Linked DNA regions of Homo sapiens: regions 2 and 3 are each linked to region 1. Evidence: promoter capture Hi-C in 16 types of primary human blood cells and fetal thymus (Javierre and others, 2016). All regions are on one chromosome and are shown on one strand. The core of a region is centred on a gene start or on the middle of the fragment in contact, and the rest is flanking DNA. Distances in the headings are between cores, read along the strand shown. Region 1 holds the start of PPP1R2 (protein phosphatase 1 regulatory inhibitor subunit 2). Region 2 overlaps LSG1 (large 60S subunit nuclear export GTPase 1). Region 3 has its middle 5.7 kb from the start of FAM43A.

What was found. Contacts are between HindIII fragments. The CHiCAGO score rates a contact against its expected background, and 5 or more counts as called.
Region 2: a fragment that was not itself captured here is called in contact with the fragment with the promoter of PPP1R2 in region 1 in 1 of 17 cell types (naive B cells); the score reaches 6.0 in naive B cells.
Region 3: a contact is called between a fragment that was not itself captured here and the fragment with the promoter of PPP1R2 in region 1, in 3 of 17 cell types (fetal thymus, erythroblasts and megakaryocytes). The highest score is 7.3, in fetal thymus.

What each region holds. Positions count from the first base shown.
Region 1 is chr3:195,541,723-195,545,533 of GRCh38, reverse strand. It overlaps PPP1R2 (protein phosphatase 1 regulatory inhibitor subunit 2), which reads left to right and starts at 2,209. Exons shown (of 6, transcript NM_006241.8): 1 at 2,209-2,630. The coding sequence starts at 2,509. RefSeq lists a silencer at 1,998-2,237. The HindIII fragment of the contact is 8,075 bases long and covers 1-2,912 here.
Region 2 is chr3:194,652,420-194,656,230 of GRCh38, reverse strand. LSG1 (large 60S subunit nuclear export GTPase 1) reads left to right here. Exons shown (of 14, transcript NM_018385.3): 8 at 3,089-3,502. Among named protein-coding and RNA genes, the nearest start is that of LSG1, 18 kb to the left of the region's middle. RefSeq lists an enhancer at 1,479-1,528. The HindIII fragment of the contact is 868 bases long and covers 1,426-2,293 here.
Region 3 is chr3:194,689,683-194,693,493 of GRCh38, reverse strand. No RefSeq gene overlaps it. Among named protein-coding and RNA genes, the nearest start is that of FAM43A, 5.7 kb to the right of the region's middle. RefSeq lists an enhancer at 3,795-3,811. The HindIII fragment of the contact is 8,231 bases long and covers 1-3,811 here.

The sequences.
Region 1 (3,811 bases), core at 960-3,459:
GCCATTGCATTCCAGCCTGGGCGACAGAGCAAGACTTTGTCTCAAAAAAAAAAAAAAAAAAAGCAGTACTGGCCCTCACAATTTTACAAACTATTTTTTTTTAAGTGCTACCAAAGTCATCTTCATCTGCATTCATTTGTTGTGGGTTTGGGAGTGGAAGAACCAGTACAGGAGACAAAAGTTTAACTCTTGATGAGGGAAATATGTTTCCAAGGTTCTTCAGAGAACTCTTCATCACCTCCTGTTCCAATGTTTGTTAGTTAATTAACTAATAAAACACTTTATGTCATACGATCGTAGTCCCTTTCATTAGAGGGTCTGAAAGCAAGCTGTTGCTTAATCAAGGGCCCAGTCACAGTTGAGTTCAGGGATGCTGAACTCAGTGATGCTTCCCAGCCCAAGCAGGAACAAAGCAAATCTGCCCAATAATTTGGAACATACAGGGAAGTTTGTGTATTCCCTTGAAAACAGGATTGCCATCACTGACCTAGACTCCTGCTGACAGGGCAGGAGACGCAACACAGGTGTTGAACACTGGGGTGGAAAGAACTCAGGAAGGGAAGGGAGGTGGCCATCCTGCTTCCCCTCGCTGAGAACCCTCTCTCTCTGCTCCATGGGCTGGACAGGGCTGTCAGGGTGTAATGTTAGATCCACTGAGCAGTCCTGGCCTGGGAGGGAGAGACGGCACCAGTGGATATTTGACTGGGAACAAAGGTGGGGACAGTGCCAACAGTGACTGTGCAGGCCCCTGGCTGAGGCAAATCCCTGGGGAACACATTCCACTCTGTGACCAGCAACCCTGTTTCCCTTCTCCCCTTCCAGCTCACTTCCCCTCCATTATCTCCATCCACATCCATTCCCATACTGAGGCCCTGTTCTGTGCCAGGAACTCATCTAGGAGCTAGGGGCTCGGGGCCAGACGATAAAAACAATCGTTTTCAGAACCCTACAGTCATCCCTGAGGGGCAGAGTCCTAAGGACACAGAACAGGGTCATCCTCAAAAGGCACAGAGCCTGTGTTAAAGAAGATGAGACTGTGGTCCAGAGATGAGCCATGGGAGTGAAACTGCTGCTATAGGGGCTAGATAGGGGAAAACGCTTCCTCTCACCCCCCACAGCAGTGGACAGACATTGCTGGGAGCGAGGTGTCAGCTCAATCTAAGAACTCCCAGAGTCAGAGCTGTCCAAAAACAAAATGAGTTACACGGGGGTGTGGCGGGCTTCTAGCCCCTGGGGTTGTTGGAGAAACAGGCTGAATAGCCACCTTATGGGCCTGCTTGACAAGGTCCCTTCCAGGACCAGTGGTCTGTGAATCCGCAGGGGCTGGTCCACCGGAGGGGCCAGTTCTGGGTGGCTCAGTCTGCTGTGCTCTAACCTGTGGTGAGGACGATAAAAAGGCCTGATCAAGAAAGAGTCATGGAAAAGAGCCTGGTGATGAGCGAGCTGCGGACTGGACTTGGGAGAGGGAGGGAAGGGAGTGTACAGGGACCATAACAAATACCACACACGAGGTGGCTTTAAGCAATGGAAATGGGCTCTCCGTTCTGCAGGCTTGAAGTCCACATCAACCTGCGGCAGAGTTGGTTCCCTCTGTGGGGGGAACCTGTCGCGGCCTCTGCGGGCCCAGGAGGTCCTTGGCTGGGAGATGTGTCCCTGCCGCCCTCCCGTCTCCTGCGCTCTCTGCCTAGACGGGTTGTGCGACGGCGGGGGTCGCTGCCCGTCTGTCCGTCGGCTTCTCCAGCGGTAAAAGGAGGTGAGGCGATTCCAATGCAGACATTCTATGATTTCATAATAGGCCTCTAAGGACCACTCCAATGCTGGCAGTCCATGCTTTTATAATAGGCAGTTCGGCTGTTTACACGGGCGAAATGGAAAGAGGAGATACCCGTTTTCTTCAAGTCAGCTAACCTCTCTGCGGAGTGACGTCACCTCGAGTCTCAGTCTGCTGATCTAAAAAATAAAAATAACACTACGGCCTCACAAGGTGGTGGGACGAGGGTGCTCGAGAGACGCGCGGGTCCGGGAAGCAGCAAGCCCGGGCGCTCTCCCGCAGGTTCTCAGAGACAGCTCCCGCCTCCCAGCGCCGCGCGGGGGCGGGGCGAGCAGCCCGGGCGGGACGGAGGGGGCGGGGCGAGGAGGTCGGCTTTGTTCTCGCCCCGCCCTCTCCCCGCCTCCTCCCTAGATATCGCGAGAGGGCGGGTCCGCTTGGCTTCGGCGTCGCGTCGCTCCTGCGCTGGAGCTCTAGGCCGGCGTCTCTCCGCGAGCCGCGGGTCAAGTGCCAGTGGCTAAGGGTGCGCGAGTAGCCGCCACCCGTTCGGCGTTGGCTCTGGCGTCGGGGTCGTTGTGTCGTGACAACCGCTGCGGTAGCCGTTTCCGAGGCAGCAGTTGCGGCCGCTTTAGCCCTGAGCGGGATCTGCGGCTGCCTGCGAGTCTCTGCTGTGCCGACCCTTCTCTTCGCGGACCCCACGCCAAGCAGCGACCCTGAGCCGACAGCCGGAGCGCCCGGCAATGGCGGCCTCGACGGCCTCGCACCGGCCCATCAAGGGGATCTTGAAGAACAAGACCTCTACGACTTCCTCTATGGTGGCGTCGGCCGAACAGCCCCGCGGGAATGTCGACGAGGAGCTGAGGTGAGCGCTGGGAGGGACGGCCTGGGAGCCCCTCCTTCCCGCCGGGCCCGTTACCTACCCAGACCCCAGGGGCGGGCGGGCGGCGTGGATGCGGCTCGGGTGCCGCTCGAGTCTCTTCTCCTGCCCGGCTAGCCGCGGGTGGGAGCGATCTTTAAGAAGGCTGGGCGATGACGTTTATCATGCTTCCTTTTTTTTTTTTAAGCATTTGGGCATATATAATATTTTTAAACATCATCTTTGAACTTTCTGTAATCGGGAACATCAAAGAATGAAATTGAAGCTTCAGATCTTCGACTGTTAAGCTTTTACTATTTCTTAACCTCATCTCTGAGGTATCTAAAATTCTTCGATAATTACAGTGTATTTTCTTGCTTTGGGAACCCTTTAAGATCTAGTCTCAAGCTAATAGGCGATCCGTCAAAGAAGAGACCATTTCCCCCATTAGCATTGTGCCACACTGTATTTCTGCATCTGCAACCAGAGTTTTGGGTGCTTTCTAGTTTTTGTTCCTGTTCAGAGATAGATCTAAGCTCAAAACAGTTCAAAGAGGAGCAACTTGAAATGACCCAGTGGTAATTTAGTTGCTCTTGCATACGCTAAAGATACACATGTAAAAAGTTGTTGACCTGAGCATTGTATGTAATATTTATAATATAATTGGAAACGACCGGAAGTCCATTAGTAAGAGCTGGTGAAATATTAATTACGGTACGTTTGTATAATGGAACAATATACTAGCCTTTAAAAAAAGAAAGGTAGGCGTTTATGCACGGAGAAAATGTTGCAGTACAGTATCTGTAGTGGGTTAGAAGTGCACGGGGGCTTGGGCGTTGCAAGATACTAAAAATAGAAGGACTCTACTTTCTGAAAATAAGGCTTAAGAAAAGTTACCATTGAAATTGGTAGTCAGAAGCTAAAATGAGGATGTTTGTGAAATCTCAGAATATAGGAACCTAGGGCATTCCTGGATAAAGGATCTTATTTAGGACCATAAAAGGAACTACTGCTTGGTGGTGGTAAATTTTAGGGATTTGTGTTACCTTGAAGGAAATATTGAGTAGGTTCATAGGTTAGAATCGTGGCCTTTTGGGGCTGGAAAGGACCTTAGTTTTTGTCTAGCAACTCCCACGCTCATGGATGCTTGAATCTTACATTCTCTCACACACAATTTTCCAACTTCT
Region 2 (3,811 bases), core at 610-3,109, 890 kb after region 1:
CTCCCATTCTGTAGGTTGCCTGTTCACTCTGATGGTGGTTTCTTTTGCTGTGCAGAAGCTCTTTAGTTTAATTAGATCCCATTTGTCAATTTTGGCTTTTGTTGCCATTGCTTTTGGTGTTTTAGACATGAAGTCCTTGCCCATGCCTGTGTCCTGAATGGTATTGCCTAGGTTTTCTTCTAGGGTTTTTATGGTTTTAGGTCTAACATGTAAGTCTTTAATCCATCGTGAATTAATTTTTGTGTAAGGTGTAAGGGAGGGATCCAGTTTCAGCTTTCTACATATGGCTAGCCAGTTTTCCCAGCACCATATATTAAATAGGGAATCCTTTCCCCATTGCTTGTTTTTGTCAGGTTTGTCAAAGATCAGATAATTGTAGATGTGTGGCATTATTTCTGAGGGCTCTGTTCTGTTCCATTGGTCTATATCTCTGTTTTGGTACCAGTACCATGCTGTTTTGGTTACTGTAGCCTTGTAGTATAGTTTGAAGTCAGGTAGCGTGATGCCTCCAGCTTTGTTCTTTTGGCTTAGGATTGACTTATGCCAAGCGTTTTTATGTGAATATAGATATATTCACAAGAATATACCAATAATAATTATTACTATAATTAAAACTAACCCATAAAATTAATCAGTTAATAAAAACATATTCTTTACCAGACACCACTATTCTAAACACTTTACATATTTTACTCATTTAGTCTTCTCGGCAGTAAGTATAGATACTTACCATTCTTAGGCAGAAGAATAGTTTGCCCTGTTAAACCATTATTTCTATTGTTTCCAGTCTTTCCTGGAAGTCAATGTCTTGGTGAAGTTTTAAAATAGATACTTATCATTATATTGCTCTGCCCTGATGCAATAACCCTATCAAAAATGGAAGAGATTAGTTTCTGCATCTGTGGCCTTCTTGATTTACTAACCAAGATAACAAAGGGAAATGAAATTTTTTGCATGATCAGTTTTCAGGGAACTCACTGCCTCCTGTTGATGACTGTCTTATTTTTAGGGCTCACCAGGTCACCTGTAGAATTGTTTTAATGTCAGTGTCTGGATTAACAGTGTATAGTTTATGGAAGATATTCTTTCCTCCTTTTTAAGAGTGAGGCGCCATTTGCTTCTCCCAAGTTTTCTGGACTCTGCTGTTTTCCATGATTTCTCAGGTTGTGAAGTCTTACTTGTAACTTGATACTAATATCTGTAATTTGGGTATCAAACATGAATGTATTAGAAGTAGCCTGATATTCACTGTTTTCTTGCCTGGAAGTTTGGGTCATCTTCTATAGTTGTTCAACTTCAGTTGTTTGAAAAACGTGAATGTTCTGAAAAAATGTGACATTTTTCAAAAGACACAGGCCAATTCTGAGTTGAGTATCTCTGGTTTCCTTTGGTCACCTTGAAAGTGCACTGTGTTCCCCGAAAGCTTGACTTTTTCCTTCTTTCTTTTAATTTTTAACATAATTACGGCAAAGTCCTTTGATTGTCTTTAGTACTTTTCCTGAAGCTGAACTGCTCCCCGCTGTAGTTTTTCTACTACACATTCATGTTCAGTTCACATTCTTGTTTTTATGCTACTTTCATATTTGAAAATGACTCAAAAGAGCCCACAGTGACGACACTGACTTCTTTACCTTCGCTGCTCATTTACCATAGAAATTGCTTCCAGTTCTATATTTCTCTCATAAGCCAGGGTTCTTTTTGAGTTGCCAGGCTTGATTGTTAAATCATACCTATTTTTCCTGACATTTTGTTTTTATTTCTGCTTTCTTAAGATTTAGGATACATGTTTGAGTTCATCGTGTCCCCTTCTGTGACTGTTAATCATTCTAACAAAGCTACTTGGAAATGATACCAGGTTTCCATCACTTTCAAGTCCCGACAAATTCACCCTTATTTCTGCTTTGTTGTCAAGAGGGATTCAGAAGAATTAACACACCCTTGAGTAGAAAATGATTTGTACCTTTCACTTTCCAAAGGGAATCTTTCATCAGTAAATAATTTCCACATGTGGAGTTGAGTTTTGCTGCCACATTTCACACACAGGGATCTGTGTGTGCTCCATGGTGCTTTGACTTCTAAAAGCAATTATGAGAGAAGAGCAGATTTCTTTAAACATGCCAACCACCGTCTTTAAAAATACAAATGTAAAATGAACTGCAAATGGCAAAGTCTGCCCTTGCTTTGTGCAGAGAGGAGTATGTTAAATGTGTTGTTGTTCCTGAGAAATGCTTTGTTTTATCATGCAGCCCATTGCAAAATAACGTACTGTCAAGAGTTCAGTTTAACATAAGCTTTTCCCCTTGCTGTCTTTGAAGAGTTTTGTTGTTGTTGTTGTGGTGGTGGTTTTCTGTTTGTTTTTGTAGACACCCAGTCTTGCTGTGTTGCCCAGACTGGTTTTGAATTCCTGGCCTTGAGCGATCCTCCCACCTCCGCCACCCAAGCGCTGGGATTACAGGCGTGAGCCGTAGCACCCGGCCTAGAGTTATTTTAAATTACAAAAGTAATACATGTTCTTTGTACAGAGTTCAAATAGTACAGAAACATATAAAGTAAAAAGTGAAGGGAAGGTCCAATTCTCCCCTCCAGGAGGGCGCCACCCTCGATGGTTGTCTGTCACGGCACTGAACTGAAAGGCTTTCGTTGTCTCCTCCCTGTGTTCACCTTTCCATCTCCGTCGAACTTTGCTTGTCCCCTGTTCATCTTTTTTTTTTTTTTGTGAGACAGAGCCTTGTCTGTTGCCCAGACTGGAGTGCAGTGGCACCATCTCGGCTCACTGCACCCTCCGCCTCTCAGGTTCAAGCAGTTCTCCTGCTTCAGCCTCCCAAGTAGCTGGGATTACAGGTGTGCACCACCACGCCTGGCTAATTTTTGTATTTTTAGTAGAGGCGGGGTTTCACCATGTTGGTCAGCGTGGTCTCAAACTCCTGACCTCAAATGATCTGCGCACCTTGGCCTCCCAAAGTGCTGGGATTACAGGCTTGAGCCACCACGCCCAGCCATCCTCTGTCCATCTTACAACTCATTAAGTATTTTTACTAGAGTGGAAACTGCAGTTATATACTTCTGAGCGTTTCTATTATTTTGTCAGGAAGAGGCAAACAGAGATGATAGACAAAGCAACACAACCAAGTTTGGACATTCCAGTTTCGACCAGGCTGAAATTTCCCACAGTGAATCCGAACATCTCCCAGCTAGGGATTCTCCTTCACTTAGTGAAAATCCCACAACGGATGAAGATGACAGTGAGTATGAGGACTGTCCAGAGGAGGAGGAAGACGACTGGCAGACGTGCTCAGAAGAAGACGGTCCCAAGGAAGAGGACTGCAGCCAGGACTGGAAGGAAAGCTCTACTGCAGATTCTGAGGCTCGGAGCAGGAAAACCCCACAGAAGAGGCAGATACACAATTTTAGCCATCTGGTATCCAAGCAGGAGTTACTGGAGCTCTTTAAGGAGCTACACACTGGGAGAAAGGTGAAAGATGGGCAACTTACGGTCGGACTGGTAAGATGACATATGTCATAACATTGTTACCACGTGATTGTCTTTAATCCCCATTTTTCAGTAGCTGCACGACCCCAAAGACCAACCAGGCTTCCGGCATCGTAGGGAACATTGCCCTCTTGTTGCCCACTGGCATCACGGGATTAGGCAGTGGGATAGACAGAGCCCAACTCAAAGGAATCAACTTCCTCAAGGCCTGTGTTGGTAACATACCTATTCACATTGAATGTATTCTCCAGTCTCCTTTCAGTTCAGCTTTTCCTGCCGTGTGAAGTACCAAGACAGCAGAATGAGAGAGATGTTAATGTT
Region 3 (3,811 bases), core at 558-3,057, 850 kb after region 1:
AGCCTGGGCTATCTTTTCTTTCAGGCAATATAAGATATCAGCTAGGTTTGTGGAAAGGAGAAATTCAGATGGGGAGCTGTGCCATAGGGGAATGAGGTGTGAACTGGAGAAGGAGGAAGGGGTAGAGATGAAGAGGAGGGGAGAAGAGGAGGCCTTCAGAAATGTCACTCCCCATGGAGGGTTAGAAACAAGGTCCTTTTCTGGTACCACTGAGCAGCTCAAGAAAGAGGAAGGAAGGAGTGCCAAGTTCCAGGGCCATCTTCTCACCATTCAAACCACCAAGACGATGGTTAGTCAAGGCGCTCAAACTGGGTCACAAGAGCTTTAGAGCAAGCAGTGGGGGTTTGGTCTAGGGGACACTGGGCCTACGAACAGGGGTGAGCCAGAAGGAACAGAAACGGCCCCGGCTACTGGTCAAGCCAGATCCAGGTGTGGCCGCTGTAGTTTGGATATTTGTTCCCCCAAATCTCTTCTTGAAATTTGATCCCAGTGTTGGAGGTGGGGCCTAATGGGAGGTATTTGGGTCATGGAGGTGGATCCCTTATGAATAGGTTAATGCTCTCCCTGTGGGGAGACGGAGGCAATGAGTGATTTCTCTCTCACTCGAGAGCAGGTTGTCCAAAAGAGCCTGGCACTGCCCTTCTCCCTATCTCTTGCTTCCTTCCTCTTGCCATTTGATTCCTGCTCCAGTTCACCTCCCGCCATGAGTGCAAGCAGCCTGAGGCCTCACCAGAGCAGAAGCTGGCACCACACTTCTTGTACAGCCTGCAGAACCTTGAGCCAAATAAACCTCTTTCCTTTATAAATTACCCAGCCTTGCCAGGCATGGTGGCTCATGCCTGTAATCCCAGCACTTCGGGAGGCCAAGGCGGGTGGATCACTTGAGGTCAGGAGCTCAAGACCAGCCTGACCAACATGGTGAAACCCTGTTTCTACTAAAAAAAAAAAAAAGCACAAAATTAGCCGGGTGAGGTGGAGGGCACCTATATTCCCAGCTACTCGGGAGGCTGAGGCAGGAGAATCGCTTGAACCCGGGAGATGGAGGTTGTGGTGAGCCAAGGTCATGCTATTGCACTCTAGCCTGGGCAACAAGAGTGAAACTCTGTCTCAAAATAAATAAATCAATAAATATAAATAAATTACCCAGCCTCAGGTATTCTTTATAGCAACACGAAACGGACTAAGACAGTGGACATGTGCAACAAGCCTGGAGCAGAGAGTGCAGAGCGCCCTGGGCCTAGCACCCTCCTGGCTGCCTGGAGCCCTGAGTAGTTCCCCATGTGTCAGTCATGGCTCCTACCCCAGCAGTCCGTGCACATTTCTAGCTCTGTCATGCATCACTTAGCAGCAGATGCTGGGACTACTGATGCATACCACACAGAGGAAAGAGTTCTGCTTATTAAATTACTAAATCCTGTTTAAAAAGACGGCAACTTGCTCCTAATAGAATTTCTATGTTTCTCGTGATCCTTGGCAACTACAATGAGATTTTTAAATCTCCAGTATGGTGCCAGGGGTAGATTCTTCCAACCAGTTCTCTCTCTACTCACAAGCAGAACCCTCAAAAACAGCTCTGTCCCCTGGGAGGGAATTGTGCTTTCTTAGTATAACAGAGCCTTTCTAATTTGGTTAAAATCTGTTCTGCTGACTGTGGGGCAGTGAGAGGTGTTTCTTTAGGGAAACCATGTGTGTCCACACACGTGTGTGTGGAGGGGGTTCTCTGAAGCTGTCATAGTTGGGAGGGTATGAAATACTATTGTTTATTTTATGCCATTTTATTCCTCCCACCTTCCTGCTTACATATGCGACAAATGGTAGAAGTGAACATGGGATGTTTGTGCTGTGAGGAGTCGATGAATGCCTCCTCCCAGACTCACGCTGCCACCCCTGGAGGACCGCGTGCCGCCGGGAGTCACCCTGTTTTTCATGCAGTCGATGCTGCATTGTTGAACACGGAGGATTACCTAGGCTGGGAAAGAACGTGGAAAGTGTCTCAGTGCATTTAAAGTACCATCAGGTTAAGTCATGGAGAAACATGAGCCTCACTTTGCAGGAAAGAAAAGCTAAATTTGATGAGTAAACCAGACTTCAGGTGTTTTCTGGAAGGTGTATTTTATCTAATGACTTAGCTTTGCTTTTGTCGCTCCATTCTTTTCCCTCTGAGCTCCAGGAGCAAAGTAGTTTTAGGGTCTTTCTTTTATTTTCATTCAAAACATCTCTTCTTACTCTAGTGATATCATCCCTGGAAGACTGAGAAGTCAGAAGAGGTGAATCACGTGTCACCTTCACATCTCTTCTAGAATTACATCAGTCAGAGCTCTGAGGTGCAGTGGGGATCGATGCCAAAAAGCAGAGGGGAGGAAGGAGAGATGGGGAGGGCACAGACGGAGGAGGAAGGGAGCTGGCTCTTTCCAGCCTGCTTATTTTCTTCTTCCTCCTCCTCAACCTTCAAGCCCCCCTTCCTATTTATAAATCACATGAGAGGAAATATCAGACTTTAAAGAGATGGCTGCTTTATATTTATTGATGGTGTTGGTTTCAACACTATTTGCCTGAACTTTTGGACCAACCACCACATGCCTGTCAGTCACAGATGAAAGCCAACATTGGCATTCTCACAGGACACTTAAACTAGATAAGAATGAAGACACACAGACCCTGCCCTGTCTCCCAAGTATTAGCCATATTATCTTCACTCTGTCTCATCTCTTCATCAGTTTCAAACAGCAGAGGAACTTGGCTATGCATGGGAATAATTTCAAATGTGAAATCTAGTCACGCAGGCTAGTGATGGCCCACACAGCCGTCTGCTTATCAGGTGAGCACACTGGTGTGGAAGGGCTGGGATGGGTGGCTGGGCTGAGACTGGACTTTCCTGACCTCTCTCTAGCTGGGGTTTTTAATGTCATTCAATGATGTGTATCTGAGGTATTCAGGGAGAGGGATCGGGACGCACAACCAAGCCAAAATATAATAGATTCAAAGGCCTGGACGTCCTAAGGCCCTTAAGACTGAATTTTTTTTAAATGTTTTCCACTCAGCTGGGTACAGTGGCTCACGCCTGTAATGCCAGCACTTTGGTAGGCTAAGGTGGGCAGATCACCTGAGGTCGGGAGTTTGAAACCAGCCTGACCAACATGGAGAAACCCCATCTCTACTAAAAATACAAAATTAGCCCGGCGTGGTGGCGCATGCCTGTAATCCCAGCTACTTGGGAGGCTGAGGCAGGAGAATCGCTTGAACCCGGGAGGTGGAGGTTGCGGTGAGCTGAGATTGCACCATTGCACTCCAGCCTGGGTGACAAGAGTGAAACTCCGTCTCAAAAAAAAAAAAAAAATATATATATATATACACACACACACACACACACACACACACACACATATTTTCCACTCGCCCCCTTTGCTTTTCTTTTTTAAAGATAGTTCTATGCCTGAACCATTCCTGTTAATTAGGAAGAAAATCTTTCACCCCTCTTTCCTCTATGGTTCCAGTGAATTCCAGACTCCTTAGGATTTCTGGGTCTAGCTGCTCAGAACATATTTATGATGAAAACAAAGCAAAGTGGCCTCAGGACACCAGGGAAGGCCAGGAGTGAGATCCATTTCTGCAACACAGGAAGAGAGGCCTCAAGGGGCAAAAGGAAAATATAATTTGCAGAAGGCACAGTTTTGGCAGCATCTTATTACAACTTCCAGCTGATCGGGTGTAGCCAAACTAGAGACATCTGTTTGGAGTTTACAACAGAAACAAACACACAGAAAGCATGAAAGCGCTGAAACATGCACACCCATACCGCGCTCTAACAGCT